5 separate regions of the Homo sapiens genome follow, and regions 1, 3, 4 and 5 are each linked to region 2. The links are contacts of gene promoters, found by promoter capture Hi-C in blood cells and fetal thymus (Javierre and others, 2016). All regions are on one chromosome and are shown on one strand. The core of a region is centred on a gene start or on the middle of the fragment in contact, and the rest is flanking DNA. Distances in the headings are between cores, read along the strand shown.

Region 1 (5,273 bases), core at 1,225-3,724, 290 kb after region 2:
AACAAATTAAACGTGAAGCCACGTAGGTTTTAGATTTTTCTGTGTCCACTTTAAGTCCTTTCAGTATTAGGAGATACCTTAGATCCTTGAGGAAATAGAGAAGATACAAATTTTATTAAAATGTAGCTAATGCAGGAGGAAGCAGGCACACAGCCCTCAGAGTCATCAGTGGTTGTCAAACTTGAACCTGGGTCAGGATGACTCCATTAGTGGCTTATTCAAATGTCAGTTTCAAATGTGGAACCCTGGCTCAAGTGTTTAAGCTATCAGTTAATATGTTTATTCACTTCAGCTTTGAGCTCCCCGGCAGGCAGGGGGAAGTGGAAGCACTTTACCTTATGTAATTTCACTCCTGTATATGTTATAAACCAGCAGATTTTATAAGAGATTGAGGTGGGTGACTTATATGATTCTCATACTCTAAAACCAGGTTTTTTTCAGGAGGGACAATCATTTTTCTGGTTCTAAATTATTAAAAGGAATGTTTTGGATAGTTTCTTATGTAAGGACCTTTGAAGAGAAAGGGCATTGACTTTTTTATAACTTCTTAAGTTTTCCAGTTTTTAAGAACACATGCCTACTGTAGTAACAGTATAAAAGGGTAATCACCTGTAATCTCAGAACTAGTAACTATTTACCTTTTCTCTACAGTCTTCTATGTATACATATATTTAAAATTTAAATAATTAAATACACGCTGTTGTAATACCTGCTTTTGCATTTAACAATATTGCATATATATCTTTTCATGATAATCAATACGAAGCTCTATTATCTTTTTAATGCATATATTTCAGTACATTAATGTACAACAATTTATCACATTTTCTCTCTCTTTTTTTTTTCTTGAAATGGAGTTTCACTCTCGTTGCCCAGGCTGGAGTACAGTGGCCCAATCTTGGCTCACTGCAACCTCCGCCTCCTGGATTCATGTGATTCTCCTGCCTCAGCCTCCTGAGTAGCTGGGATTACAGGTGCCCACCACCATTCCTGGCTAACTTTTGTATTTTTGGCAGAGATGGAGTTTCACCATGTTGGCCAGGCTGGCCTCAAACTCCTGACCTCAGGTGATCTGCCCACCTTGGCCTCCCAAAGTGCTGGGATTACAGGTGTGAGCCACCGCGCCCGGCCTATCACATTTTCTTTCGATGGGCATGTTGTATCGAACTTTGCATCTCAATAGGGAAGACACTAGGTTCAAGAGGCCGAAGAAGAGATCCAGAGACAGCAAATGAAGCATGGGATTTTATTAGGAGCATACTATACAGGGGAGAGAGTCCAATGCAGGCAGGCTGGATAATAGGACTGCCTTAATTACAGAAATGGTGGTGGTAGCCTGGACAACATAACCACATAACCCAGTGGCAGCAGGCTGGCCAGGAAAACTGCAACTGCTTGCAAACAGCATGCAGTTTATATAGCATTTTCACTTAACATCCTCCTCCTAGTGAACTCCACCTTCCAACCTTCATGAACCCAAAACTCAGGGCCTCAATCTCTTGTTCGGCCATGTTCCACAGGATGGGACAGGGGCTCAGATGTTTATCATAGATAAGAAACCAATCTCTGTGTTAGCCACTCCCAGATGCCCTAGCTCAGAACACACATCAGGTGCATCTGCCATAAGGGTCATTCTAAGAGTATGCTTAAGTTATTGCTATCAGTTGTGTTTACCCTACAGGACAGTAAGTTGTTTTCATTTTCTCTCAGTTAAATAAAATGCTGCACCTTTAATTCTTTATGCATATATATTTGCTTACTGTGTGATTATTTGCTTTGACAAAATCCTAAAAACGAAATGACCAAGTTGAAATGTAAGCCACTTGCGAAAGCTCTTAAAACATTTTGCCAAATATCCCCTAGGAAGGTATTACCCATGTAAACTACCGGTGGTATACAGACATCTATTTCTGCTCATAAGCACCAGTTTGTGGGTGAAAAGTGAAATACTACTGTCATTTCTCTAATACTACTGAGGTATAAAAATTGTATTGGCCATTCATATTTCTTATTTTTTATTAACATCCTTTGACTTGTTTTTATTAGTATAATCATTTTTAAATCATAGGCTGTTTTTACAATGAGAATATGAATCCTTTGACATATTTTCCTGGCAGTTTTATCTTAAAATTTTGGTTGTATTTTTTATACTGAAAGTAGCTTTTTATCTCCTTCAGTGTCCTTTTCGGAAATTTTTTTCACACCCTCCACCTTATAAACCAATTCTCTTGAATTTCCGAGTAATCTGTAACTTATCTATTTAAGTCTGTATTCCAGGAACAATTCATTTAGTGGATCTACATTTCTTTTTTGTTTCAAATAGTTGTCCCAATACCATCTATTGAAAAAAACCTATCCTGCACTCAGGAGTTCAAAATACTTTCCTCTGTTCAATTCTAGTTTCCATTCTGCTCTGTGTTGAGTGCCATATTTTTTCATAGTATTGTACTTTTGTAATATTTTAATATGCTGCATTCTAACATCCTTATTTGCTAGAATAAGATTATTCACATGGATTTTCTTCTTTCATTTTCTTTCTTTCTTTCTATTTATTTATTTATTTTTTTTTTGAGGCAGGGTCTCACTCTGTCACCCAGGCAAGAGTGCAATGGTGCAATCATGGCTCATTGCAGCCTCAACCTCCAGAGCTCAAGTGATCCTCCTTCATTTTTTGATTTTTTTTTTTTTTGTAGAGAAGAGGTCTCACTGTGTTGCCCAGTCTGATCTTGAACTCTGGGCTGAAGCAATCCTCCCGCTTTGGCCTCCCCAAATGCTGGGATTACAGGTGTGAGGCACTGCCTGGTTTAGCATGTATTTTTTCTCTCAGGTGAACTGTATAATTTATAACATCTTTCACCTAAATGCTATAAAAATGCCACAGTTCTCTGTATTTGTGTCATCTCTGGGGATAAAGAAAAGCTGAGAGGGTGACTTTATAGAGGAGACGGTGCCCGGAGGGTAGGGAGTGAGGGGCAAGTTGTTAGTCCGAGGAAGCACAGCTCTGCTGGCTCCTGGTGAAAGAAATCATGCAAGACCAGAATTCAGAATCTGAAGAGCAGATGTGTATCCCTGAGACTATTTTCCATGGCTTTTGTGACTTTTAGTTGTAATGTTGACCACAGAAGCCCAAATACTACAACTTACACCCACCCCACAGGTCAGGGTCAGGAACACTGGTAATTCTATGTTCTTCCTTGTTGTGACTGACCTTGGGATTCTAGGTCTGTGGTGAACAGGATTTGCATTTTTATCTTCACAAGTGATAAGTCTGAACAAGCAAATGAAGAGTCACCATCTCTCTTTTTCTGAATGAGGCCCAGGGATGCCGCAGACAAAGCCAACATCCTTCTAGAAGCAGCATTGGGGTGTTCAAGTGCTCTTACAGGTGTCTAGGTATCTGCACTGTAGAGAATGGAAAAATTATCTTAGCCTGGAAAATGCTAAGATCCAGTATTACTGAAGCCCTATCCAGGCCCAGAATGATGAAGAGGTGCCTCAGATTTTGAGCACCACCACCCCCTGGCAAAGTGGCCTGCCAGGGATGTTTACTGCAAAATGTAATCTCAGGTACCTACGTTAACCTGCTTCCTGAAGGAGGCTAATACTGCCCCATTTGTGTTTTGCTGAGAACATTCCAGAGTTGAAGATTTTTATTTGGGTCTATTTTTTTTCCAATTTACTCTTTCTAAAAATAATGAAACTACAAGATTGGGTTCAGGGGGAACCATTCCTTTTGCACGCAGGCACGTCCGCCCTCAGGATGGATGGCTGTTGCCCTTCCTCTTTCATCCTGGTAAAACACTCACCATCGAAGCATGTGTTGTTGTCCATTGAGGCAATACATGATTCCATCACAAAGATAGCTGACTTCCCCCTTTCTGTGGGAAAATCAAGAACAAACTACCCCCAAAAGAATTTACACATTTACTTGGAGTTCTGAGGTATAACTATCTTGATCTTAATTTCTTAGAAGTCAGATAAAAACCCTGAGACACTTCAGAAAAGTCTAGAAACACAGGGAGGGTTTTTTTTTTCAGTTTCTATTTGTTTTGTTTTTATAATTCATTGAAGGTTATCCAATTTGCTGAAAAAATGGAAGGGTAGGAGAGGTATAATATCTAAATTTAGAAAACCTGGATTCTAGTTATAACTCTACTAATTATTAGTTGCGTGACCTTAAATACTTCACTTCTCCTGGCCTTAGTCTATTTAATTCATAAATTGCAAGATATTTGTAAAATGCCTGCTATAAGAATTTATTACAAGGTTGCAGGATCAAATGAGCTAAGGTTTACAAAAGCACTTTGTAAACTCCAATAGGCTCTGTGTATGTGTATATGTGCATGCAAATACTATATAAATGTACTTTATGTGTATATTCCGAAGGCCAGAGGGCTCCCCCTCAGCCCACATGCACCCCTGAGAGATTCTGCGAGCTGGTGCTCTCTTTGGTCAAGGCCGGGTCAGGCCACACTCTAACCCAAAGTGGTCCTGACTTAGACTTCAGGACCCTCATGGGGACTGGGGAACACTTCTCTCTGAAGGAAACACTGGAGCAGGCCAAGAGAGGGTAGATGTTGTCCCCTTGTGTGATGTCCCCTGCTAGAAAAGAAGAACGCACTTTCTCAGTAGCTCAGGGTTCCCACTGACAGCATACGGATTTTTGACTAGACTGCCTTTGAGATTCTAAAATCTATGGTCTGCTCTCTGCTCTAGAATCCCTGCACTGAAGTGGTGCCATGTGAAACCTCTAGGTAGACCCAATATTCCAACCCTAAAGAGGAATCTTCTGCAACACAGGCCCTGCTACCCTGCTGCCGGCGGCTTGGGAGTCTGCGCCGCGGCTGGCGGGCGCCCAGTGTCCAGCTGAGCGCCGCCTGCCGGGGGAGAGAGGCGGGCTGGGCAGGGACGCGCAGGCCAGCGGAGAACAGCACCGAACCCACCACACTGCGCAGCGCGGAGAAGCAGCCTTTATTTCCCACCGCCGCACAAGCCTTCCCCAGGCGGAGGCCTGGACAGCCCGCGCAGGGCCGCCTCCTCTAGTAGTCTATGGTTTCTTTGTCCTTCTTGTTGAAAGGGTTGTAGGGTCTCACAGTTGTGACCAGTCGAGACAGGGGAGCCTGGTGACGGAAGAGGTCAACTGCCATTTCTTTCTGGAAGACGCTGGGGCAGGATGGGAAAAAAAGGAGGAAAATGAGACATAAAAGACATGTACAAATACACAACCTCATCCAACTAATGATACCCCTGTGCGGGAAGGGGAGGGGAGCGCG
Region 2 (5,154 bases), core at 2,432-4,931:
TTTTGACACCAGGAGAACACCACCTCCCCCCTCACCAGCTGTGTTTATGACAATGATGCCAGAGGTAGCCTCTTCACATCCCTTTATGATTCATTCAGTATGGCCAATGAAAATCTTTTACTAAAATTGTGCACTTGCTTCACCCTGGGCTCACACATCTTACTCCTCTGCTGGAGGGCTAGAACACCATCCCCTCAATCCTGGTACTTTTTTCTTCCTTACCACTGAGTCAGGGAGCTGAGAGGTTTGGAAGTCAGTGGGAATCCACACAGAGAAAGAACTGGATTTAGATTGGGCTGTTTTCCCTCTGAGCTTTGTCCTGTTGGCTTCCCTATCTCCTCAACACCACCTGCCTCCCGCACCCACCGACACACACATCTCCAGAATGTAACTCTCCTGGCTGACAGGGAAGCACATTATTTAGGGCCGTATTATCCCCTCTGCTCAAAAACAAATGAGCTCACCGAAGTGTACACTTGCATTTATCTGAGACCATGTTTATAAAATTCATGAATATGGAAATGGGCAGCCATCTCCCAGAATCCCTCACACCAAGAGAACTGGCACTGTCTGCTGTAGGTGAAAACCTCTTCCCTTGAAGGCTCAACAACTTCTACCCAGAAGAAGAAAAGAACAGCATATTCTTTCTCATACACACACACAAACACACACACACACACACACGCACACAGTATATACCACCAGTCTGTGGTCTTGGAAGCAAAGTTTAATAATTGAATAGCTCAAGCACTAAACTCTTACATATTATTAAGATACTATCCTAATATGTCTCATTTGTCAAAGATGGAAAAGTTTTGATATGACATAAGGGTTTCAATCCCAATAGGAATATTAATGGTAACAATAAAAATAACATAGCAACACGGTTTCTGTTGAATGCCTGCCACATGCCAGCAACTGCTTTGATAATTAAAGAATTATATCTTATGTTGATTATAATCCTTATAATGGCTTCCTGGGTAAGAAAGGTTTATTACTGTTTTACATTTGAGGAGGAGACTAGGGTTCAGAGAGGGTGCAGAAGTGAGTTACACTTTTGCCAACCAGGCCAGAAGATGAAAGCCGCTGGATTGGGAAATGCTTTTGTATCAAAAGCACAAAATGAAGTGGCTAGTGTTACTTGTTGGAAAAAAATTAACTTTGGCAAGCATAAATATAATTCAGTATTTGAGCAATACTTTTAGGAGGGTAACAGAGTGGTTTATGTGAATTCTCCAAAATGCCATCATGAAAATTTTGATGATGAAAATCACCTAAAATTGCTAATTACCTGTCTTAGCCTGTCTAGGGCTACAAAGTACCATATGCTGAGTGGCTCATAAACAATAGAAATTTATTTCTCACAGTGGAGGCTGGAAGTCAGAGTGCCAGAATGGTCGAGTTCTGGTGAGGGCTCTTCCAGGTTGCTGTCAACTCTTTGCATCCTTAGGTGGTGGCAAGAGGGCTAGAAAGTTCTTTGGAGTCTCTTTTATTGTATTTTATTTTTTGGAGACAGTCTCACTCCGTCCCCCAGGCTGGAGTGCAGTGGCGCGATCTCAGTTCACTGCAACCTCCACCTCCTGGGTTCAAGCAATTCTCAGGCCTCAGCCTCCTAAGTAGCTGGGATTACAGGTGCCCACCACAACACCTGGCTAATTTTTGTATTTTTAGTAGAGACAGGGTTTTGCCATGTTGGCCAGGCTGGTCTCGAACTCCTGACCCCAGGCGATCCACCTGCCTCGGCCTCCCAAAGTGCTGGGATTACAGGCATGAGACACTGCACCCAGCCTCTGGAGTCTCTTTTATAAGGATACTTACTATTCTCATCCATGAAGTCTCCACTCTCATGACCTAATCACCTCACAAAGGCCCCGCCCCTTAAAACCATCACATTGGGCTTAGGATTTCAACATACAAATTTTGGGGGGACATAAACTTTCCATCCCTAACATTACCCAAATAGTATCTATATAGTCATTTCTAAATATACACGTATTTAGAAATTTCTAAATAGCCAGTAAACATACAACTGACTTGGCCTTGATATAACTGTTTTCATTTTCTTTTATTTTCATTCTACATGACATATTTTGGGTAATTATAAAATAATTAAAATTAGTTGATAAAGTATGGAATTAGAATAAAATAATTTTCTATTACTATCTAAGCCATGAAATGAATTAGGAGATGCTGTTTTCAGTGAAACGTCTTCTAGTTTTTAAAGTGCATTGTCCAATTCCTTTTTATTTTGTGAAGATTTTAAAAACTTAAAAAAAGTCTTCAAATTGTTTGTGCCTTGCATTTCTTTAAATCTTATGTTTAAACATCATGTGCTGCTAGTTGCTAGTCATTTTCTCTATCCCCTGCCCCAGACCCTCTCTTTCTCAGGAAAGGATATCCAGGGATCCGGGTCCCAGTTAGTCAAGGAGATATAAGAGGAAGGCTATGAGGCTTTCTGGGAAACATTTTCTTTTTCCAAGAGAGAAGTGTTCAGAGGGAAAAGGTCCTTTCTCAGTTTGGCTCCCTCTTTGTGTTTTAGATCTGGTCATGTGAGGCTGCCTGGCTTGGATTGTGAGGGCATCTCTCGACAATGAAGTGACAAGCCTGGGGAGGAAAATCCACAGGCGAGAAGGTGGCAGAATGGAGAGATGGTCCTTCATGACTTCTTTGAGTCACCAGGTCCAGATTTCCCGCCAACCTCCAGTCTTCTTGTTATGTGATCTGATATCATTATTTACTGCAGAGGCCACTGAGTGGATGCTCTTACTTGTGTCTGAAAATCCAATTCACTAAATTAATCAAAATACGGCACTCTTCTTTTGAAACCTTGCTCCAGAACAAAGTGGAAGGTAATGATGGGGTGCTTTTCAAAGTTCCAGGGAGGTGTCCCTACACAGCAGACAGCTGTCCAAAGGAATGTAGATGTTGGCTGCGGGGAGATCTGAGTTGCCAGACTCAGTCAGAACAGGTGTCCTCTCCCTTATTTTATCTTAAACATGCATGTCATTTTTGCATGCTACTCTATGCGGTTCTTTCAGCCAGGGAACATTGCTGAGCACCCGCTCACGTGCTGTATGGAGCGCAGACTGCAGGGTGCGAGGGGCGGAGGTGATGTGCTAGGCCTGAATTCAAGAGGGGGCGCAGCCACAGGCCCCGCGATGCCGGGGTGGCCTCTTGTAACGACGTTTTAACCGCTGACCTAAGTGGATCCGCTCCTCTCCCGCCGCCCGCTCCCTGCCTGCAGCACAGGATGGCGGCTGGCTTTCCCGAGTGGGCGCAGGTGAGCCACGCTTGCTCTCCCGGGTGGGCGCAGGTGAGCCATTGTTTGCTCTCCCGGGTGGGCGCAGGAGAGCCACGCTTTGCTCTCCCAGGTGAGCCGCCGCTCGCTGTCCCGGTGAGGGGAAGTGAGCCACGCTCTATGGGAATCCTTCGAATCTTCATTCAATTTCCATCGCCTCCTTGTATTTATTTGGGAGTACTTTTAAAAATGAAGCCTATGCACAATGATGTAATAAGCGTTTATAGAACACCACTGGTCGGAGCTAGGGCCTAGGTGGCGGTGCCCGGGCCCAGGTGCCGCGCCCACGCCCCGCGCGCCGAACGCACGCACGCACGCACTCACGCACTCACGCACGCACGTACGGCGCGAGTCCGAGGGCGACAGCAGCGCGCAGGCGCACGTCAGTCCCCGCGCTTTTCGGAGGCTGCCAGCGTCCCACACCAGCCGCAGGTAGGATGCGGTGACGGGAGGCGGGGCAGGGGCGCTGCTGACCCCTGTGGAGCATCAGGGTTGGGGCGTAGGGGAGAGGCGGGCGTGTGCCTCTGGAATGCTGGGGGTCGCGGGGCGGTGACTTCGCGGGAGGCCGTGGGAGGCGGGAGCCAGGCAGTGGCTGTGCCCTTTTGCTTCTGTCTTAGCGGGAGGGTGGCTGACCCGCTAGCCCAGAACCAGACTCATCCAGGATTAGGAAGCTGGGGCCCGGCGTGGACGGCAGGCTCGGGGCCAGGTCTGCGGGCGGCTTCCTTTGGCAGAGCCTGTCCGGGGGCGGGGCCGCTTACCGCAGGCATTTACTGGGCCCAGCGGGGCTCTGGGCGCCCACAGCGGGGGTCAGTCAGTTCCCCTGTGACCCAGGCAAGCTCTTAATCTCTGTGATGAGAAAGAAGGGCTCATACCTTTCAGGGGTCATCGTGAGGAATCAGAAGAAGCAGTATTTTATAGAGTATTTTCTAAGTGCTGAGTCCTCTGTCTAGTGCTTTGCAGAATTAAAATACCTTGTCAGCTCAGTGATGTTGCTGCGCTTCTTTTATAGGTGAAAACCGGCAGAAAGACATTAAGAGATTTTCCTGCAGTCACTGCTGGCAGATGATAGAGCCAGGATTTGAAAGCAGGCAGCCTGGCTCCAGACCCTGTGCTCTTAACTCCCGTTTTGCATCAAGAACAGAATCCTATGAAAGGCTTGCACAGTGCTTGGTACTGAGTAGGCACTCCGTCAGTATTTTAGTAGCTATTATTCCAAAGGACACTGTATTCTAGGTACTAAGACAATGTGAATGGAATGGAAAACAATTCCTCCCTGCAGAAGCCAACTGTCTAGGAAGACAGATAATGACATTATTAAAATAATCAGAACATTGGCAAAATAAAGAAGATTGAAATGCAGTTCATATGACAGTGCTAATTAATCATACTTTTTAGATCTAGGAAAGGCCATAAAGGTTAAATTGACTTGGAAATGGTAAACAAGACAATGGTTGTGTCACTGATCGGTGATGGCCAGTTTTTGGTTATCCTTATTTGCCATTTAAATGATTGAATTGAAAGGAAGAAGTAAGACTTGGAAGATGAATATTGAAGGAAAGGTGAAGATGGAAAAGAGAAGGGGGTTTATTCTGAGAACAGTGACTAGAACTCTGAGGTATGGTAGAAATTTCAGGATAACAGATGATAAAGGGGAATGAAGCCATGGAGAGGAAGAGAATGATAATATTAATTGTGAAAGTTTGTGTCAAGTGTTTTCTGAGTCACCTTTCTTTCAGTTTCTCATTTCTAGTATTGTATAAATGAGTTTAACATCAAAATGGTATAGTGAAAAAAAGGATGAACTGCTTGACAGAAGAGGTCAGATCTAGTTTTGACTCTAGCTTATTTAGCTTTAC
Region 3 (4,797 bases), core at 75-2,574, 340 kb after region 2:
ATCCGGATAACTCCCTCTTCTCTGCTATCTTACCCTGCAAATTCTACATTCCTTGGCTTCCCAGAACTCTAATCTCTCTCCTCAATCCAACAAGAATGTAAAGCTATGTTTGGGTTTCACTTTCCTGGGCTGTGGCTTAAAAACTGCCCCCAGGAAGCAAGCTGGTGTAATTGCAGGGCTCACATCGTTAGTTTCCCTTCTTTAGAGATCCCAGTCCTTCAGTGCCTTTGGCCAGTGTCTGGAAATGATTATTTTTTATAATTTGTCCAGTTTTCTATTTGGCTAAAGCAGAAAAGTAGCTTGAGTGCCCGTTACTTCATCTTCTCTAATTTATTCATTACTTTGCTTATCATTTTTTTATTTTTCTTTTCGTGCTTTCTTTTGATTTACTTTGCTGTTCATTTTGTAGCTTTTCACCTGGGAAGGGTGCTACTGGCATCTAGTGGGTGAGGTCAGGGGTGTTGCTAATCATCCTACATTGCACAGGATAGTCTCCTTCAGCAAAGATTTATGAAGCCCAAAATTCTGACCATGCCAAGGTCCAGAAACCATGGTTTAACACATTCTGTTCCACTGCTTGGTTTTTGCTCTTCAGGACCTCCAATTATATGTATATTGTTTCTTCTTTGTTTATCTTCCACTTCAACCATCTTCTCTTTAACACTTTTAAATATTCTTTATCTCATGTTCATTCTCTTGAATATTTTTTCATTTTTTATTCAACGTCCTTTGTTAAATTTTGGTTTTCTCTGTTTTTCCTTTGCACCATTTAATTATTATTCCAAGATAATTTTGTATTATTTTTTGTCACTGATTTGTATTTAATTTTTGGATTTCTGTATGAAGGCAGACCTTTATAATCTCAAAGGCTTATTTGAAAATATGTAATTCAATTTGTAGTGGTGTAGTACAATGTTTCATTTACTGCTAAATAGTTGACGTGGGAGTAATTGTCTTCACTAGATTGTTTTGATTCTTGTATTTTGTTTTATTACGGTTGGTTGAATTTTGAATAGATTTATTTTATTTTCTTCTATTCATTTTGTGGATTTTGTGTGGTTTGCAATATTTTTAATTTAATGGTGGTCTCTCTGTCAGTGTAGCAAAATACACTGTCATGTTGATACAGGAGCTAGAAACAAATTATTTAAGTAGATAGTAAGTGCAACAGAATCCTTGACAGGGTTTCCCTTTTAACAAAAAGCAGCACCCAAATCATTTCTTTTCTAACAAAGATCAGCCTGAAAAATCTAGCTGTAAACATAGATAAGTATGCTCGAAGTTTGCATGTGTGAATGCTGACAGCTGTGCCAATAGGGAAGGGCTACCAGGAAGCCAGGTATATTCAACATGGAGGCTCCATCTTCCCTTTTCTTTGTCACCACGTGTACAGTAAAAAGTAAGCAACATGGTGCCAGCCAGGTAGAGAACCCATCTACATAATAAGATTAGGGTGGCATTGGCCAGATTCTCATGTGCTATGCAAATGGAACATCTGGTTCAGTCAATCTTGTGTGCCCTATGTAAATTAGACACCACCTCCTCAGTCTCATCTACAAAACCTGCATTTCACTGCAGAAGCAGGAACCCATTTTCTCCAGGAAGCCTCTCTGTGCAGAGAGCTCTTTTCTTTCTTTTGCCTGTTAAACAACCACTCTTATCCACAGTCTGATGTGTCTTAGTTTTCCATGGCCAAGGGACAACAAATCTCGGGTATTACCCCAGACAATGACACCATTTCAATACATATATAACATAATATAATATATATATATAACATATACACATATAATATAATAGAACATTTTATCATATATATGATAATATAACATCATATATAATAAATATATAATATACATTTTATATATAATAAAGATATTACATATATATTTATTATATATATTAGCTGATGGTTTACATATTATAAATATATATTTATATTTTACATATTATATATTAGCTTATGCTTTTTATATATAATCATATATTATGTAATAATATATAGTAATATAGTATAATATCTAATTATATATTATAATATATAATATATAATATGATTATATATTATATTATATATGTTAGATATCATATTAGTTATAATTATACATTATAATCTATATCATATAACATAACATATTTATATATAATATTTAATATAATATATGCAATATATTATATAATAATATGTATATATAATGTATTATATGATATATGTGATGTACACACATTATATAATATATTTATATAATATGTAGTATATATTATACATAAATATTAGTATATACTATGTCAAATGTAAATGTAGTAAATATTATATATAAATATAAGCATATAATATATATCAAATATATAAATATAATGTATCAAATATATAAATATAATGTATAGCACATAATATAATATATAAAAATATATATCACATATACAATATATAATATATAAACTATATACAACATATTAAATATGAATATATTATATGTTAAATATGTAATAAATAAATATATATAAGAACTCCTGTTGTAATCTATCATTGCTATGTAGAAAAGATCTGTCAAGCCTTTGAAGGTAATCTGTGTTTTTTTCCCCCACCTCTGGCCGCTTTTAAGATATTATCATTGATTTTGGTTTTATGCAGTTTTTCTCTGGTTGATTAGGTCTTTACTTTTTAAATTCTTCTGTATTTTGTTGCTTTCAAATAATATTAAATGAAGAAATTTTACATTTAAAAAATTTATTAACTATTTTCATTTTACCACATAATTAAATACAAGCTTTATTTATTCAGATATGGAATTACAAAATATTCAAATTGACTACAGCAGAATTGATCCTCAATTCCCAGAATTTTATGAATGATTGTGTACCAAAAAATCCAGTAAAACTTACTTTATTTATTTATCAGTTCTTTTACTCCTAAGCTTCTTATAAAAGTATTGTTTTATGAAAGTAATAGTGTTCTAAATTTGAGAATATAAATGAACATTATTCAAATTAATGTCAATGTTGTATCAACAATATCAGTGCTGTATCTATCAGTAATATTGCATCAGAAAAATTACAGCTTATTTTACCAGCTTATTATTTTGGGTTATTCTACATATGCAGAAATTATTAGATTGCAATTTGAGGTAGATATAATAAAAATATATAATCTCTTTGATTTTGACCCTAGTAACCAAAACAATTACCTTATTTTAAAATAGTGTTGGCCTGGCATGGTGGCTCACACCTGTAAACCCAGCACTTTGGGAGGCCGAGGCGGGTGGATCACTTGAGGTCAGGAGTTCGAGAACAACCAGGCCAACATGGTGAAACCTGTCTCTGCTAAAAATACAAAACATAGCCAGGCGTGGTGGCACATGCCTGTAATCCCAGCTACTCGGGAGGATGAAGCATGAGAATTGCTTGAACCCAGGAGGTAGAGGTTGCAGTGAGCTAAGATCATGCCGCTGCACTCCGCTGGGGTGACAGAGCAAGACTCTGTCTTAAATAAATAAATAAATAAATAAATAAATAAATTAAACTGTGTTAACTTGATCAAATGCTGCCTCTGACACTTAAAGGAAAACATTTCTTATTATTCTTTAGGCTAATATTTATTTCATGAATGAAGTTGTGTTTATCTCCTTTTCTAAAATATAAATATTTTCAACATAAAACTATTTCTGAGCCATAAATAGGTAAATTCCAGTGAAAATGGTTTATTCTTTGTAAACAAGTAGGCCATGAGAACATTTTATATATCATAAATCAATCTTAATGGGGAGGCTTTATTCACTTTTATTTCAAAAACATAGTGCAATACTAAAGCAACTGGTATGAAAGTGCTTAATTAGCCAGAGGCAAAACAAGCCTGAAATTAAGTGCTAGTAATTTATGTAAGTTTCCTAAAATTTAAACAGGTGTCTAATAACAGCAGCTATGATATGACCTGTCTAAGGTGCTAAGACGTGTTTTGTACTATACATCAATTCATATATTTTGCTTGTGTCCTAAGAGGCATTTTACAACCCAATCCCCTGTACTTTGATAACTGAAATAACTACATTATGGTCATTTCAAACTTCTATTGAAATGTCATTAACTTTTTTCTAATTAATTATGTACATGTTTCAAATAGATAAAAATTTATTTCTTAAGTAGTATGTTTGAAACTAATATAGTAATTTCTGACAAAAATATCAGGGTAGGTACAATCAATGTAAGTATCACTGTTGATAATAACTCCCATCAGCTGGAGTCATCATAGTCTGAAATACACCAGTTTTTATTGCCCTTTATCAAAGAGACAACTACTTTTTCTAAACCTGTGTTTAATTCTTCTCTAGCAGTATCTGAAATTTATGTCATATTTTCTATAGTTGACATGCTTGTTGACTATTATCTTGGTGTGCTATATCATGATAGTATGGCATAATCTTTCAGGGGAATCTAGATTTTTCTCTAATATAGCATCTCTTCCACTTTCTGATTATATTCCTACAAACTCACTTGTGTATGTTATGTATCTTCAGTTTATTTATAAAATGTTTTCATTTCCAGATACTCAAATTTATCATCTACCTAATTTCCTTGCTGTCTGTCTTCACTTTCTAGTGGCTATTTTCTTGCTGGTGCATCTTCTCTCTATTGCTGTCTTCTACATGTTGTGTGTCTACTATTTCATAGAGAAGGGACTAAATTTGCTCTTTGATATCTTTACTATTCTTGTAATCTGATTCAGTGGGAATCTCTACTTCTAACTCTAAATGTTCCTTAGTTTCTTCTAATAAAAGTAATCACATTGAAGTAGAACTT
Region 4 (5,183 bases), core at 1,594-4,093, 320 kb after region 2:
ATGTTTGGTCATGGGTATACTTTTAATTTGAATGAAAAAAAATGAAGTTGAAATGTGAAGCCTGTCTGAAGTGTTCAAAATATGTGAAGAAAAAAGAGTGGGCAGATATGGAGTGCTTTGAGGTCCACACGTGTTGTCATTTCTTTATTCTCTTTGTTGCCTCTCTTTCCCTCTTCATCCATTTCTCTGTGTCATGCCATGTGTTTTGGCATTCACTCTATCACTCTGCTGAATTCTAAATCCACTAGTCAGCCCCATTATCCATTCTTGGGCCTCATCCCACTTGACCTATTTGCATGATGTGAATAGGCAATCACTACTCTTCCCTGAACACATCCTCAATCTGCCTTCCAGGACCTAGACTCTTCATCTTCCTCCTACCTTACTGGTTGCTCCGTTTCAGTCTCGATTGCTGGCTTCTCCTCTTTTTTTCTCTTTTTTAACGAGATGCCAGGACTCAGTGCCCTTTGCCTGTATGACTATACTTCACCTTTAGTGTTCTCATTCAGTTCCATGGCTTTACATACCTTTCTACAAGCCATGACACCCCGGTTGATTTCTCTGGCCCAGGCCTCTGCCTCAAACTTCAAATCCATATTTCACACTGCCTGCTTGACATATCCACTTGGATGTCTAATGAACATCTTTATATTCAATGTATGTAAAACTGACTTCTCCACTGCCTTCACCTTGTTATGAAATGGCAACCTCAGTACATCCAGCTGCATAGGCCAAAGCCTTAGAATCATTTTTGAGTCGTCTTTTCTCCAGATTCATCACAATCAGAAAATTGTGTTGGCTCTACATTCGACATACATCCAGAACTCAACCGTTGCTTACAAATTTTTCTGCCAGCACTCTCCCCCAAGCTACCATTATCTCTGTCCTAAATGACAACAATAACCTCCTAACTGGTGTTCCATCTTCTCTCCCCTGTAAAAATCTACTTTGATCACAGCAGCCACCATGATTATTACCTTCTTGTATAAGTCTGATCTTTCCACTTCTCTGCTAAAGCCTCATGTCACTCAGAATGACAGTCCTGGTAAAATTACAATTGCTTAAAGTGTCCCACAAGATCTGGTTCCTAGCACTTCTCTGACCTCTCCTTTTGCTACTCCCTCCTCTTACCCTACTGTTACCCTACTCCAGGCACCCTGGCCTTTTGTTCTTCCTTAACATCTTAAGCATACTTCTGACCTGGGCTTTTGCTCTATATTCCCTCTTCAGGGTATAGAGTCACTCCAAATCTCTGCATGGCTGCTCTCTCAACTCCTCCAAATTTCTGCACACCCCTCAGCACCTGGGGAGGCCTCCCCACACCTCCTACTTATTACTGAAGCCTGCTACCCTGTACATGTGGGACTCCTGATCTTGTCCTGTTCTACCTTTTCTTAATAGACTTATCTGTCACTTTTTAAGATATGATCTATTTACTTTCTAAGTGTGTTTGTTTATTATTGTCTGTTTCCCTTTTGATATGGTTTGGCTGTGTCCCCACCCAAATCTGACCTTGAATTGTAATAATCCTTACCTGTGTAGGGTGGGGCCAGGTGGAGATAATTGAATCATGGGGGCAGTTTCCCCCATACCGTTCTCGTGGTAGTGAATAAGTCTCACGAGATCTGATGGTTTTATAAATGGGAGCTGCCCTGCACAGGCTCTCTTGATTGCCACCATATAAGACGTAACTTTGCTCCTCCTTGCCTTCTGCCATGATTGTGAGGCCTCCCCAGCCATGTGGAACTGTGTCAATTAAACCTCTTTCCTTTATAAATTGCCTAGTCTCTGGTATGTCTTTATTAGCAGAGTGAAAAGAGATCAATACACCTTTATAATGAGAGATTTGAGAGCAGAGATCTTTGCCTACTCACTGATGTAGCTCATAGTCTAAAACATAGATTCGTAATAGGTACCCAATATATTTGTTGACTGAGTCAATGAATTCTCCCATTTAAACTTTCTCTGTCTTGGCTTTCTAGGATGCTGTACTCTTATCCCCCCACTCCCTCTTTGACCATTTACTTTCTGTTATGGTTTTATTCTTCCATCAAGCATAGGTGTGCCTTAAGACTCTTCCTTCAATGTTTATTTTAGCAATCAATATCAGTAAATGTCTGCGTTTGATGTCCTCTGTGTCACTCATAAGATCCAGGATATTATAGACATAAAGAGGATGTGTCATAAAGGAAAAAGAAATATATTCCAAAATCAAAATTCCACTGGGAAAACTGCTTACTTTTGTGTAGAGGACTTGTAAAATGAGTCCTTTGCATTACATTTCTTGTTTGTTTGAACAAGTGGTTCACCTTCATCCTAGAAGGCATGAAAAATAAGTTAAAAGAGACCAAATATAAATGGAAATTGTTATTGTTTTCTAGTCATCATGTTTTCTTTTGGATTCCTTTTTCTTCATATTTCTTCTTTCACGCACCTCTTGGATTGACCAGATTTAATGCTTCCCTACTTTTCCTCTCCTGTTTAAGGAATTTGCATTGTTTTATTGTCATAATCATTAAATTCACAAAATGTATATTAAAGTTAATGGAAAGTGAGAACTTAAGAGAAAGCTCTTGAATTGGAAACATCAGCAAATACTTAGTTTTAGCACAATGTAATTAAAAAAATTTTAGAACGTATTGTCTTTTCTTCTAATAACATAAAGAGATTAGTTATGAGATACTTTATCTTCCAGTTATTTTATCAAAATTAATTAACTAATTATTGTTATAATCATTATTATCTTTAATGGTTACTATTTATTTCAATTTTCAATGATATTTTACCAATTTGTTGCCTCCTTTTGCTTTTTTATTGTACTTGTTTTTTCTCCCCTAGGTACTTGGTTCCATTTTCTTTCTGCTGAAGTTCAATTTTTGTTAATTCTTTCACAAATGTAAACTTTTTCTAGTTCTATGTTTTAATTCACCCTCAGTTTTGAAAAGTGTTCTAACTTGGGTTCAGAGTTCTAGTTCAATTCTAGTGATGATTTTTTTAGTAACAAATTTACCTCATTGACTTCGAGGATGTATTGTTGCTTTTAAAATACACTGAGTTTAATTGTTTGCAGGTATTCTGTTTTCCTCCCCTCTGCTTATATTTAGGACATTATCATTGTCTTGAGATTTTTTACAGATTCAATGTAATTTGTTTAGGAGAGGCTATATTTTTGTTTATCTGGCTCAGGACTTGTTATACTTCTTCGATTTAACAATTCATAACTTTCATCAAATAGTTCTCTATCTTTATCTATTTACTGTCCATGAATTATAATTATTCTCTTCTTTTAGAATTACTATCAGACAAATACTGGACTTTTCATTCTGTGGTTCATGTCTCTTAATTTTTGCATTGCTTTATCTCTAACTTCCGCATGTACCTTCTATTCTACCACTATCGGCTTTCATAGTTTTAAAATGTATTTGTATTGATACATAATAGATATACAAATTTTGGGGGTAAATGTGATAATTTGATACATTCATATAATCTGTAAAAATCAAATCAGAGTAATTGGAATATCCATCACCTTAAATATCTATCTTTTCTTTGTGCTAGAAACATATGAATTTTTCTCCTCTATTTATTTTGAAATGTGCAACAGATTATTGTTAACTATAGTCACCCCACTGATATATCAAACATGGTCTTAATTATTGAATCTAACTGTATATTTGTACCCATTAATCAGCCTCTCCTTATCCTCCCTCCACACTCCCTTTCTTGGCCTCTGGTAACCACCAATCTACTCTCTATCTTCATGAGATCCACCATTTTAGCTTTCGTATATCAGTGTGAACAAGCAATATTTGTCTTATGTAGTTGGCTTATTTTATTTAACATAATGACCTCCAGTTCCATCCACGTTGGTACAAATGACAGAATTTTATTCTCTTTTATGGCTTAATAATATTCCATTGTGTATATATACCACATTTTCTCTACCCATTCATCCACTGATGGACACTTATGTTGATTCCACATTTTGCCTAATGCGAATAGGGCTGCAATAAACATGGGAATGCAGATATCTTTTCGATATATTGTTTTCCTTTCTTTTGGATATATACTCAGTAGTGGAATCACTGAATCATATAGTATTTCTAGTTTTAGGTTTTTGAGGAACCTCCATACTGTTTTCCATAGTGACTGTACTAATTTACATTTCTACCAACAGTGAATGAAAGTTTTCCTTCCTCCATATCCTCACCAGCATTTGTTATTCCCTGACTTTTTGATAAAAGACATTTTAACTGGTGTGAGATGATATCTCACTGTGGTTTTGATGTGCATTTCTCTGATTGGTGATATTGAGCATTTTTTCATATACCTGTTGACTATTTTTATGTCTTATTCTGAAAAATGTCTACTCATATCTTTTGCCCATTTTTAATCAGTATATATATATATATATAGAAAAAGATATGAATAGACGTTTTTCAGAATAACACATAAAAATAAGACATACATATATATACATAGCTATAGAGTTGTTTGAGGTCTTTATATACATTCTGGTTATTAATCCTTTGTCAGATGGGTAGTTTGCAAATATTTTCCCCATTCTGTGAGTAGTCTCTTCACTTTTTTTTTCTGTACAGAGCTTTTTAGCTTGATGTAGTCCCATTTTTTCTATTTTTACTTTTGTTGACTGTGCTTTTGAGGTCTTACACAAAATATATTTGACCAGACCAATGTCCTAGATCATTTCCTCATGACTTTTTTCTAATAGTTTCAGAGCTTCAGATCTTAGACTTAAATCTTTAACCCATTTTGACTTGATTTTTGTGTATGGTGAGAGGTAGGGGTCTAGTTTCATTCTTGTGCTGGTGGCTATACAGTTTCCCCAGCACCATTTATGGAAAAGACTGTCCTTTTCCCATTGTGTATTCCTGGAGCCTTTGTTGAAGATGAGTTGGTTGTAATTGTGTGGATTTATATGTGGGCTCCCTAATCTGTTCCATTGGTCTCTGTGTCTGTTTTTATGCTAGTACCATGCTGGTTTGATTACTATAGTTTTGTGGAATATTTTGAAGTCAGGAAGTGTGATGTCTCTAGCTTTCTTGTTTTGCACAGCATTGCTTTGGCTATTCCAGGTCTTTTGCATTTTCATATAAATTTAGTATTTTTTCTATTCCTATGAAGAATTAACTTTTCTGCTTGTGATTTCCTTTTTCACCTTT
Region 5 (5,041 bases), core at 2,460-4,959, 270 kb after region 2:
GACCCTGGACATATTATTCAATCTCTCCATAGTTTGGTTTCTCTAAATTTAAAATGATGTGTAATAGTACTGTGTCTGTGTGTGTGTGTGTGTGTGTGTCAAGTGAGTTATATATGTGAGATGCTTAGAATCATGCCTAGAACACAGCAAGGTCTCTGAAACTATTAGCTATTATTATTAGTTGTAAGAGACAAATAGATAACATCAGTAAACAGCATCTGGCACAAAACCTCTGTTCAATGCTTATCACCTGTTCCAGACACAGGCTACCTGGTTACAATTTTATCCTGTATTTCACTTCCTTTTTTACCCCCTCACCACTTAAAAATAAATACAACTCCAAGTATATTCCCAAAGCAAATTATATTTAAGGTTTCAAATAATTAAGCAGTTACCAGGGAGAGGTGATTGTTCAGTAAGGACAGAATGTGCCATGCCTTAATAATTACAGTTTTAAAAATCCTTGGCATTTGTGTTCCCAGTGTATGGAATGGTCCTCTGACTCAGGCACGTCAATGGTCCTTGATCAAATGTCATAATTTTGCCAGGATCCAATGCATCAGAAACCCAAATGGCCATCCTCACAGACACTCTGAGGGTGAAGCGCAGGAGAGACCCTGCTGCGTGGTATTCCAGGAGCCCCTTCAAACCAGGACCACCGCAGACTCAGCAGCTTCCTCCCTGAGGGGACAGGGGAATTTTAAAGTGGGACCCTTGGGCAATCCCCCGGCTCTTACCCAAACGGTCACAGGGTCTGCAGCGGGTGCAGGACAGTGATGGCTTCTCCTGAGAGGAAATGTGACCAGGGAGAAGTGCTGGATAAAGGGAACTTCTGGGCTGGCTTTGTCCAGAAATTTCCTGTTGAGTGTTTCACTTCACGTTTAGGAAAGGATTGAGGAACTCTTGGGAATCCAGTTAACAAAGGTTTAGAACGCAATGAAAAGAAATTCAACACCCATGTCTGGCTCTCAGGGCCTCCTGGGACATGCTGCTTCATGCTAAGGCCAAGGAGACTTGAGATTTGGCCTTTCTTCTAAGAAATGGAGCCAATTTTACATCCTGTCTTAGTTTCTCAACTTTCTGGTGGTCCTGAGCATGCAATTGGAATGCACTTGGCATTTGTCTTTTTCTCCCCCCTCCAGGTTTAAAAGAAGAAAAAGACAGGAAATACTGGAAGTGGCTTATTTCTTCATGCACACCCATGTCTTTTTGCAAAGTGCAACAGAATGACCACCACCCCTCCACTCCAAAATGCGTTCCTGCTTATTCTAACCCTTTATACCAATAACATTGTCCAAAGCCAGACAAATTGAAATAAAACAAAGCAAAATAAAACAAAAAACAAAACAAAACAAAAACAGGCTGGACCAATGAATGTAATACTTATATTAAAGTATGCATTAGAACATCATGCAGAAAAGAATCTATATCTTTCAAAGAGAGCATTTTCTTAGTACTTCTCCATAGGTTTCAAAGAGCAATTTTTGGAAGACTGGAGAGAAAAAAAAAGAGTGCAGGTTTTCTTTTCATTTCATGGATCCTTAACCCATATTTAATGCAGGCTCTGGATTTTAGACACAGCAAGTGTGCTTGTAATTATTTCAAACAGTTAAAAAAGCTAGTTAATGATGTTCAACATAAGTAATCATGTTAAATAGTAAAATTTAATTTCTTAAAAACTTAAATCCTCATATCTTCTGGAATGCATTGTACTGTAGGATGTCTGAGTAAATTAAATTCTCTCCTGCACACTAAAGCATCAATTTCCTTATGGTAATTATCTGCTAGATTGGATCTGTCAGAGGCAGGGAAGCAAGCCTGACATTATACCCTCTTTACAAAAAATGATTACAAAAAATTAAGACGAATGAGTAAAATTAAGGCTGTGGCTGGTAAGCCTCTATAAAGCTCTCATGGATCACTCTACAGAAGATACCATTGTACTGGGGACTAAGCTTTTAATGACTAGCCGTATAATCAGGTGAAGTCCATTAAAGAAGGGCAGAAGTAACCGATCACAGAGATAACAGTGAGAAATGATTTTCCGCCAAGTAGAAGCAATTTATTAAACACAAAAACGCATTTTTAACGGAAGTGTCTGGATGGATAAGGAACTTGGTAAAGGTGACAGGATTTATTTCCTGGAACGTTTGAAAAAATGGTAATGCACAGGGGTCTATGTGTGCTTTTTCTTTGCCTTTGGGGTCTTGGAGGGTTCCAGGTGGAATTCCCCAGGGTTCTGGCAAAGCCAGTTGCACAGCCAAGTGCCTTTGGGGTCACGCTGCCACCCGCCTCTGAGTTCTCTGGTCTAGATTCCTCAGAAGCTAATTCGACCAGAGATATCTTTCAATTCTGTGCTGGACTCTCACCGACTGCACCATGGATAACCAAACTGTTCATCTGCTGTTGTTAAACCCAGCCGTGTGTGAAAGCACTTAGGGAATATAATTGCATGGCTATCAGGGCCAGCGCATCGGTTTAATTAACTCTAAGGCAAAGAAAAAACAAAACCCCCATGGAATCATGAGGAAAGCTGCCTGAGCTCAGGGCATAAATTAATAAAGAAAAATGCCCGAGTTGGCATTCAAGGCCCAGGAGCAGCTACCATCTGGCCATGTCCCGAGTCCCTTCCCTGCTGTCCCAGAAGTGCTTTCTGCTAGTCCTGGTCATGCCTTTTTTTGGGGGGCTATTCCTTTCCAAGGACTCTCTCCTCCTTGCAAGTGACTGAGATGGCTGGTCAATCCCTGCTCTGCAGTGGTCTTCCCCTCTAGGTCTCAGTTTTCCTGATCTGGAAAATGGGATCGTTAATGACAGCATGACCTGTCAGGTTTACTGGAGCATAAGAGAGCTCCGGGCTTGTTGAGGTGCCGGCACATACATACTAACTGGACTGCAGGATGGCAGCCTTCACCCGGCTTCACCATCAGCTGTGTGTTTCCATCTTGCCCATTCTCTGTGAGCCCTATGAGTGCCAGGAATGTGTTTTGTTTCCCATTGTATTCTCAGCACCCAGTACAAATGCCAGCAGATAGTAGATGCTTTAAAATGATTATTGAATAAAAACTATGAAGGCACAATTGGAATTTTTCTAGTCATGAGTGAAAACTAGGGGCAATGAATTTTTATTTGTAAGCCTTGGTTTACCTCCATTTGAATGCTATAGATAATCTGGTGTATGGCTTTCTTGCATCTCTGGTACTAATGAAAGCAAACTAGCTTTAGGTGAACTGTGCACACTCAGACTACTAGCTTGCTGACATAAAAGCCTTCAGCTTAACTCATGCCTCAGCGTGAAGTATATGTGAGGTAGTTTTCCAATGACAATTTTGCCTTGGGCATGCATGGCATTTCCTAAGGCAATCCCAGGAGCAAAGGCAGGCTTCTTTGGGAGAAGTAGCAGCACCATTGAAAGTAGCAGCACCAGGCAGAGGCCAGCTCAGATGGTTATTAGAGACAACCTATCATCTCAGTCCTCATGATGGTGTTCAGAGCTCTTCATGGGCTTGTCGCAGGTTCAGCATGAGTTCCTTCTCTCCCTGCCTGCTCTCTCAGCAGAGCACCGGGCCCAACTGGGTCTGTGTCATTGCTCACATTGGGCATGTGGTTGGCACGCTTGCTCCCTTTCTTTATCAGAAAGACCCTGAGCATTCTTAACGCAAAGTACTCCGAGATGGCTTTTCTAATGTGCTCGGGGAAAATAAACTGCTTTCATTAAATTTTGTTTATATTTCCATAAAAGCACTGTCAGCTAATTGGATATGTGTTTGTTGCTCCAGGGAGTTAGTTATTTGAAAGCGCAGGACATATTTTTCATTCTCATCAATGGTCTGGAAACCTTTCCTGATATAACTGGTAGCCAATAGAAAATAATCTTACTCCTAAGTGACGATGAATATAAAATGTGTCCAAACGATGGTGCAAATAAGTAATTACCTATTTGATTGAGCAAGCCGCCTTTCCCTCTAAACCCTGGAACTCTGATGGTCTGCTGATTCCTTTCTGGTCTCTTCCCTTATTCCTCCCTGTTGTCAATATTGGTCATTTCTCATAACATAAGTTTTGTTTACAACTATGGTAAAATACTCATGACATAAAATCTATCATCCTAATCACTTTTAAGGGTATATTTAAATAGTGTTAAATACCTGTTGTGCAACCATCACCACCATCCATCCCCAGAACTTTTTCATTCTCCTAAAGTGAAACTCATTAAACACTAATTCCGCATTCCTCTCTCCAACCACCAGCCCTAGGAAACCACCGTTCTTTTTTCTGTCTATGAATATGACTTCTCTAGATACCTCATATAAGGGGAATCATCCTCTATTTGTCCTTTTGTGACTGCCTTATTTCATTTAGCACCATGCCTACAAGTTTCATCCATGTTGTAGCATGTGTCAGAATTTCCTTCATTTTAAGGCTGAATGATATTCCATTGTATGTATAGACCACATGTTGTTCATGCATGCATCCATCCATCCATCTGTCCATCCATCCATCCATTCATCAGTAGACACTTGGCTTGCTTCTGCCTTTTGGCTATTGCGAATAACACTGCTATGAATGTGGGTGTACAAGTATTTCTTTAAGACCCTGCTTTCAATTCTTTTGGATATATACCCAGAAGTGGAATTATTGGATTATATATTTAGTTTTTTGAGGAACCAGCATATTGTTTTCCATAATCACTGAACCATCTTACATTCCCACCATCAGTGCACAAGGGTTCCAGTTTCTCCATATCCTCACCAGTATTTGTTATTTTTATTTATTTTTTGAGACAGTTTCACTCTTGTTGCCCAGGCTGGAGTGCAGTGGCATGATCTTGGCCCACTGCAACCTCTGCTTCCCAGGTTCAAGCGATTCTCCTGCCTCAGTCTCCTGAATAGCTGGGATTGCAGGCACGCACCACCATGCCCAGCTAATTTTTGTATTTTTAGTAAAGATGAGGTTTTGCCATGTTGGCCAGGCTGGTCTCGAACTCCTGACCTCAGGTGATCTGCCCGCCTTGGACTCCCAAAGTGCTGGGATTACAGGCGTG

The links. Contacts are between HindIII fragments. The CHiCAGO score rates a contact against its expected background, and 5 or more counts as called.
Region 1: a contact is called between a fragment that was not itself captured here and the fragment with the promoter of FIGNL1 in region 2, in 8 of 17 cell types (total B cells, non-activated CD4 T cells, naive CD8 T cells and 5 more). The highest score is 10.0, in total B cells.
Region 3: a contact is called between a fragment that was not itself captured here and the fragment with the promoter of FIGNL1 in region 2, in 9 of 17 cell types (activated CD4 T cells, non-activated CD4 T cells, fetal thymus and 6 more). The highest score is 15.3, in activated CD4 T cells.
Region 4: a contact is called between a fragment that was not itself captured here and the fragment with the promoter of FIGNL1 in region 2, in 11 of 17 cell types (activated CD4 T cells, total CD4 T cells, naive CD4 T cells and 8 more). The highest score is 14.8, in activated CD4 T cells.
Region 5: a contact is called between a fragment that was not itself captured here and the fragment with the promoter of FIGNL1 in region 2, in 12 of 17 cell types (naive CD8 T cells, total B cells, activated CD4 T cells and 9 more). The highest score is 15.7, in naive CD8 T cells.

Annotation. Positions count from the first base shown.
Region 1 is chr7:50,158,936-50,164,208 of GRCh38, reverse strand. It overlaps SPMIP7 (sperm microtubule inner protein 7), which reads right to left. Exons shown (of 9, transcript NM_001161834.3): 9 at 4,953-5,163. The coding sequence ends at 5,040. Among named protein-coding and RNA genes, the nearest start is that of SPMIP7, 66 kb to the right of the region's middle. The HindIII fragment of the contact is 7,687 bases long and covers 1-5,273 here.
Region 2 is chr7:50,448,877-50,454,030 of GRCh38, reverse strand. FIGNL1 (fidgetin like 1) reads left to right here and starts at 3,681. Exons shown (of 4, transcript NM_001287492.4): 1 at 3,681-3,730; 2 at 4,308-4,913. RefSeq lists silencers at 3,535-3,724, 3,866-4,160. The HindIII fragment of the contact is 8,767 bases long and covers 1-5,154 here.
Region 3 is chr7:50,108,085-50,112,881 of GRCh38, reverse strand. The region is part of intron 2 of SPMIP7 (sperm microtubule inner protein 7); the gene reads right to left. Among named protein-coding and RNA genes, the nearest start is that of SPMIP7, 15 kb to the right of the region's middle. The HindIII fragment of the contact is 2,899 bases long and covers 1-2,773 here.
Region 4 is chr7:50,126,850-50,132,032 of GRCh38, reverse strand. It overlaps SPMIP7 (sperm microtubule inner protein 7), which reads right to left. Exons shown (of 9, transcript NM_001161834.3): 3 at 2,240-2,316. Among named protein-coding and RNA genes, the nearest start is that of SPMIP7, 34 kb to the right of the region's middle. The HindIII fragment of the contact is 6,824 bases long and covers 1-5,183 here.
Region 5 is chr7:50,177,048-50,182,088 of GRCh38, reverse strand. No RefSeq gene overlaps it. Among named protein-coding and RNA genes, the nearest start is that of SPMIP7, 84 kb to the right of the region's middle. The HindIII fragment of the contact is 3,503 bases long and covers 1,958-5,041 here.